Regions from separate parts of the Homo sapiens genome. Here region 1 is linked to region 2. The links are contacts of gene promoters, found by promoter capture Hi-C in human tissues and cell types (Jung and others, 2019). All regions are on one chromosome and are shown on one strand. The core of a region is centred on a gene start or on the middle of the fragment in contact, and the rest is flanking DNA. Distances in the headings are between cores, read along the strand shown.

What was found. The method cuts DNA at HindIII sites, captures the fragments that hold promoters and counts their contacts. A contact is called where the count stands out against the background at its distance.
Region 1: a fragment that was not itself captured here is called in contact with the fragment with the promoter of KRTAP13-2 in region 2 in 1 of the 25 tissues and cell types used here (heart right ventricle).

What each region holds. Positions count from the first base shown.
Region 1 is chr21:30,416,970-30,420,583 of GRCh38, reverse strand. All of the region lies in intron 3 of LOC105372772 (a long non-coding RNA gene), which reads left to right. Among named protein-coding and RNA genes, the nearest start is that of KRTAP13-3, 7.1 kb to the left of the region's middle. The HindIII fragment of the contact is 4,108 bases long and covers 1-3,355 here.
Region 2 is chr21:30,370,792-30,374,155 of GRCh38, reverse strand. It overlaps KRTAP13-2 (keratin associated protein 13-2), which reads left to right and starts at 1,885. Exons shown (of 1, transcript NM_181621.4): 1 at 1,885-2,766. The coding sequence starts at 1,943. The coding sequence ends at 2,470. The HindIII fragment of the contact is 3,845 bases long and covers 154-3,364 here.

The DNA.
Region 1 (3,614 bases), core at 52-2,551, 47 kb before region 2:
ATAATATTTTTTATTCAATCAATATTTACATACCATGAAATGCACATATTTCAAAGGGTAGAGCTTGTTGTCTTTGATGAATATACACACCTGTGTAATGACTACCTGATCAAAATACAGAAAATTTCTTCACTCCAGAAAATTCACTCATGTTCCTTTCTTAAATCAATTCCTGACCCCAGACACAGCTACTGTAGTGATTGCTATCACCATACATTAACTTGCTTCTTCTAGAACTTCATAAAAATGAAATCATACATTTTTTTTATCATATGCATCTTTTTTCACTCAACTTAATGTTTTCGAAAAGCTTCATGTGGTGATATGTTTTATTCATTTTATTGGTGCCGTATATTCCCTTTTGTTAATAATATCACAATGTGTGTATTCTTTCATCTATTGACTGACATCAAATTTTCTCAAGATTTAAAAAATAGAGCACAATGAATATTGATTGTTCCAGTTTCTTTTTGTGAACATATGTTTTTAGTTTTTTCTCGGGGGGAAGAAAACCATGAATGAAATTTCTGGACCATAGAGTCGGCATATGCTCAACTAAATTAGAAATTGCCAAACAGTTTTCCAAAGTTAGTTTCATTATTTTACTATCCCACCAGCAATTTCCTAGACGCCTACGAACTCCATCGTCACCAACATTTGCCATATTTCTTTCAGCCATTTGCTAAGTGGCATCTCACTGTGGTTTTAAGTTGCATTTATTTGGTGACTAGTGATTTTTATACACCTTTTTTATGTTTATTGGCCATACCCATGGAATCTTTTGTTTAGTGTTTATTTTTCCCTCATTATTGTTATATTTTTATTGATACTAAAGTTGAATTTTTTTACGTATTCCCAAAGTAGTTATTAGTATTGGTAATTTCCTATGTATTGTTCGCCTTCTTTTTTGAAAATAAAAAATCAACTTTTATCTTAGATTCAAGTGACACATGTGCAGGTTGATAACATGGGTATATTGCATGATGCTGAGGGTTGGGGTACAATTGATCCCATCACTTAGGTACTGAGTATAGTACCCAACCAGTTTTTAATCCTTGCCCCTTTCTTCTCTCCCCACTCTAGAAGTTCCCATTGTTTATTGTAGCCATCTGCATGCCCATAAGTACCAAATGTTTAACTCCCACTTGTAAGTAACAAGATATGGTATTTGTTTTTTTTGTTCCTGCTTTAAATTCACTTAGGATGATAGCCTCCAGCTGCATTCCTGATGTTGCAAAGAACTTGATTTTGTTCTTTTTTATGGCTCTAAGTATTTCATCGTGTATACGTACCATATTTTCTTTATCCAATCCACTGCTGATGGACACCTGAAAGAGGTCCCAATCCAGACGCAAGAGAGAGTTATTAGATCTTGCACAAGAAAGAATTCAGGACAAGTCTTTAAAGTGAAAGCAAGTTTATTAGGAAAGCAAAGGAATAAAAGAACGGCTACTCCATAGGCAGAGCAGCCCCGAGGGCTGCTGGTTGCCCATTTTTATGGTAATTTCTTGAGTATATGCTAGACAAGGGGTGAATTATTCCTGTCTCCCCTTTTTAGACCATAAAGGGTAACTTCCTGATGCTTCCATGGCATCCGTAAACTGTCATGGCGCTGGTGGGAATGTAGCAGTGAGTATGACCAGAGGTCACTCTCGTCTCCATTTTGGTTTTGCTGGGTTTTAGCTGGCATCTTTACTGCAACCTGTTTTATCAGCAAGGTCTTTATAACCTGTATCTTGTGCCAACTTCCTGTCTCATCCTGAGACTTAGAGTGCCTTAACCATCTGGAAATGCAGCCCAGTAGATCTCACCCTTATTTAACCCAGCTCCTATTCAAGATGGAGTAGCTCTGCTTCAAACACCTCTGCTATTTCCCCCACTTTTATAAGAAAACTCTTAATCCTAAGGGTTGCTGAGGGATGAAGATCCATCTTCTGTAACATCTTCAGGCTGAATACGGGCGATGATATTCCTGCCTAACCATTAGGGTCTCTTGTGTTCAGGGTAGAGAGGAGCTCAGTTAGAAAGAGTTGGTATGCTGAGGGTCATTTATAACTCTTGAGTTCTGACAAAAGGTGATATCTGGGAGATTAATTAAGTGTTCAATTTAAGAAAACATTTAGTAAGCTTATTCTGCATTCCTATACCAAGAGTACAACAGCAATATATTCCACAAGAATAAAGCAAAACAAGTAAAATTATCCCAAACAAACTAAATTAGAAGACTTTTCATGAACTGGGCAACAGGTGGAACCAAGCTGATGTGGGGTTGCTAGCTATTTGCAATGTGCCCAGAATTAACTGATTTAGATTTTTACATTACCCATCCTTCTTGTTTTTTCTGAGCAGCAGTTAGAGATCACTGGTTGGTACGCAAGAATAAGTAGGGTTAGCCTACATTGCAGAAACAAAGTTATAAACAACTGATGAGATGAGAATTTAATAACAACTGTACCATAGTTCTGGAAACATAATATTTCTCTCTCCAGTTTTTCATTTTTACTAAAGACAAATCATGATAAGACTTATTGGCTTTATTATACTTGGCCTGATTATTTGTATAAATGGCAGAAAGAATAATTATTTTGTTACATAAACTCTTTTTAAATTGTCTTTGATGGAACTCTGCTCCATAGAAGGACTCGTAGGTAAGACTTTTTAAGAGCCCAGCCCAGACATGGGTTTGCACCTTCAAATATCTATGAGTTGAGTAAATTCCTCTCCTCTTGGGGTCCCAAGATAACTTGGGGCTCCTGGACCTGTTAGAGAGTGACATTCTTCACTTACCACAGGTCACAAACCCTATAAGGGACTATGGTAGACAAGGTGTAAGGCCAGGTTCCCAGGGGCTTTTATAGGCTTTACAAGTCAAGTTTGATTCCTTAAAGGAAAACACACCATTCCAGACAAAGCTGTGGTAAAATAACCAGTTTCTCCAATGGTGTCCTGCTGCAAAAGAAAACAGATTCTTACTGAACTTATGCAAATAACCATATAACCATAAATTAAGAATACTCACAAATATGTGTTTCCAAATTCTGGAGAAATCAGCTAGAGAGAAACAAATATGCTCCAAATTTTGTTCACAGGAGTATACTCTACTCAATTGTCAAAGGCTGTAAATAGCTCTAAAGAAAAATTTCCTTCATTCTGAAAAACAAAACAAAGAATCAGCAATGTTTTAAGCAAAAAGATAAACGGATTACTTTAGACTTCTTCAGTTTATTCCATGAAGTTAATTTCTGTTCTGCTTGATATTCATGAACATTTTAGCTCTCCATGAGACTTCTGGAAGTTGTTTTCTCTGTTCTGATGTCACAGTCTCTAAAGTTATCAGAAATCTGTATTCAAGTGTACCTGTTGGAGTTCTGTAGCTGACTATAAAACCACCTTCTAAAGAGGACTAAAATGAGACAACAATTATCTGTAGGTGACAAAACGTCTTAGGACAGCCACAGTCAAAAACATGATTGACAGAGAAATTTGGTTACCTCTGTGCCATACAATGACAATTATAATTATTAATAATATATACTAAGTCATATTAGAATTATAGGGCTTTCCCATTATTTTGGAACATATACCAATGAAACATTTATGCAAATACAGCCCAA
Region 2 (3,364 bases), core at 636-3,135:
AGATGGACACATTTATTAGCATTTGGGAGTTGTTCATTAGCATTTGTACAAAGTGCACAAATAACTCCTAATAAAAAGTGTTAACCCAATTAGGAATGGGTGGAGGGACTGTTAATTGGAACTGACTTACTCCCAAGTTATTTTAGTGTTTATTCCCAGACATAGGGAGCTGGTCTAGAAAGGCAAGAACTTTTGGATATTAGTAAGTTTTTTGTTTTCTTTTTTTTGAGCAGAATCAACCTGTAGTAAGAAAAGAAAAATATTTCTCATTTTAAAGGTGTTAAAAGCTGCCATTATAAGGAATCCCATGTGTTGGGGGTGGTGCATACTTTTTGGTGAATTTAATAGGTGTCCATTCATAAAGCACAGCTTATTTTACTTCAGTGAATCAGAGTGATGGTTTAAGTATTGCACAAGGGCACTTCATGTGATGCATGCCACACTTTGGATTCTGCATGGGAGAGATAATCATAAAACAAAGTAACTAAGTGCTCTGAAACAGTGTGCTTTGGAATGAAGGAAGTTAATTTTCAGGTAGTTAAGAGGCTCTCTTTTCGATAACCATTGTGAATGCCATTTCCCTTAGTTAAACCAAATAAAATGTCAAATTCAAAAGAAGAAGAATAGACACAGATAAGAAGCCTCTTCCCCCCATTAATCTAAACATGGATTACCAATATTCTTTCTCTTTCTTGGGCTAGGAAGTGAAATATACTTCAAATGTATGAAGATCAGTAAGGCATAGAATTCCCCAGTTGAACACTATTCAGTGTGAATATTGTTAGGAAAAGTAAATAAGGCTTTGTTAGGCTTTTATATCTTAGTATAAATAAGCTTAATAGTTTCTTTTCTGAGACAAGTTAAAGTTGAATTTACTTTTATATTTGCAAGGTATTTGCAACTTGACTCTGAATAAGAAAACCATAATTAAAGCTTCAATTTTGCTTCTATCTTACTGAGAAATTAGGGGAAAGTTAAAGCTCTCTGAGAGGTAATTTTTCCATGTATGGGTTGAACAGGGGATGTTTAAAGACCCATATAACTCTAATACTTCAAGTTAAAAGCTTCAGAAAAATGTTAACAATTCCTCAAAGTTTAAGTATAAATTAATAATTGCAGCTAAGAATCTGTCCTTTTATCCAGAAAAAAAAATTGAAACATAAAACAAAATAAAATTTATGAGTTGATTTAGAGCATAACCATAGAATAGTGCTTGCTACAAGATAGGTTCATCAGAAAATATCTGAAAAACTTCAATTTAAAGTCTTACTAAAAAGTTTGTGTTTATTGTTTCCTAAGTGAGCATTGTCTAAAGTAGCCTCTTGTTAAGGAAGATGCCTGATATGGACACCCAACATAATGCTGCACTCCTCAGTTCTGATCCTGAGCTCTTAAGGTACTAGTAAAAGGTTTAACTGACAGATTGCTGAGGCTACTGAATACAGTTAGTATTTGGAGAAATCCTCCGTTTCTGGTAACAAATAATATGCTTGTGTTAAAAAGAAGGACAATCTATTTTGAGTAGTAACCACTGATGCTCCTGATAACTTAAGGGAAGTAAAGAAAGAATTTTGTGTAATTCCATTTGGTACAATAAGGACTCACTGTACTCAAATAATAAGAGGCAAGATACTCATAAATGTGATGACATATAACATTGAAGGTCAAACCACAGTGAATTCCAGGAAAAAAAAAAACTGAGTGGCTTCCTTCTAAGTGTTCCAGAGTGACTAAAGTACAAGTAAGTATATGAAGATGTGATAAATTAAACAATAACCTAGGGAAGCATTCTTATAATAAAAAGTGAGCAAGGAGAAGGGAGTGTCGAGACAGTGGACACACCCAGGTCTAAGAGCATATATAACTTGGAGTCCAGACTATGACATTCAAACTCAGAGAATCTTTCCACTATAACTCAGCTGAACTCACATCTCCCGTCAACATGTCCTACAACTGCTGCTCTGGAAACTTCTCCTCCCGCTCCTGTGGTGACTACCTGCGCTACCCAGCATCCTCACGTGGCTTTTCCTACCCCAGCAATCTGGTCTACAGCACTGACCTCTGCTCTCCCAGCACCTGCCAGCTGGGTTCCTCTCTCTATAGGGGCTGTCAGGAGATCTGCTGGGAGCCCACCAGCTGCCAGACGTCCTATGTGGAGTCCAGCCCCTGCCAGACCTCCTGCTACCGCCCCAGAACCTCCTTGCTCTGCAGTCCTTGCAAGACGACTTACTCTGGGTCTCTAGGCTTTGGATCCAGCAGCTGCCGCTCCCTGGGCTATGGATCGAGGAGCTGCTACTCAGTGGGCTGTGGGTCCAGTGGTGTCAGATCCCTGGGTTATGGAAGCTGTGGCTTCCCTTCCCTCGGCTATGGATCTGGATTCTGCCGCCCAACCTACTTGGCTTCTAGGAGCTGCCAGTCTCCTTGTTACAGACCAGCCTATGGATCAACCTTCTGCAGATCAACTTGCTGAATTTCCAGACCTTTTAAGCAAAGTGTCTCAGTCTCTACGTAGAGCTGTTATCATAGGCATTTCCAGCAATGTGAGCTAACCCCTCTTACTACTAGCTCTTCATCCTTTCTCTGGCATCAAGTACTGGCTGGACAGGCTAGTTCTTTCAGACTGTGAAATTAATGAATGAGCAAAATATAGAGTCAAATGTCTATAATTTTGAAACAAGTGATTCGTTATCACGTAAGTTCATCTTATAAAGTATATGGAAGTTCAGTTTTGTTTCACGTAATAAATTCATTTACTGTTGATTCCAATATGTTCTCTTTGTCTTTTATTGGTTTCCAAAGTTTGATTTGTGATCTGTTTTGGGGGCTCCAGGCCCCCAGACGTCTTTTCCTTGGACATCCATTTCCATCGGTAATGTCATCAGGCCTAGTGTGTGGGGAGATTCTCCGGGCATGCCAGTGCCTAAAAGACTGAGCAAGTGCATGTCTTCTGCCATGAAAACTGGTTGGATTCTTAACAGAATTATTGAGAGTACACTCATAATGGTGGTGTGTTTTCAAGGAAGACACATTTTGCTGACAATCATATTTGCTTTTTGTTTACATTTTTAAAAGAGTATTTAGAGTTTTCTCAGAAGATGTCAACTAGGTGATTAAATATAAAATTATGAAATATTTGAATAAATCTGAAATGTTATGATGGAAAAGGGAAAATATGAAATGTTAGGTACTGGAGGACATTACGGTTGTGTTTAAATATAGGAGAAAATTAATTATTCAGTGTGTGTGTGTGTTTGTGTTGTGTGTGTGTGAGAAAGAGAGAGAGAGCACAGAAGACAGAAAGACTTAAGGTTTACAACTGTGAGTAATGGAAACAGTTATAGGGAGAAATACTTTGGCTTGTTTT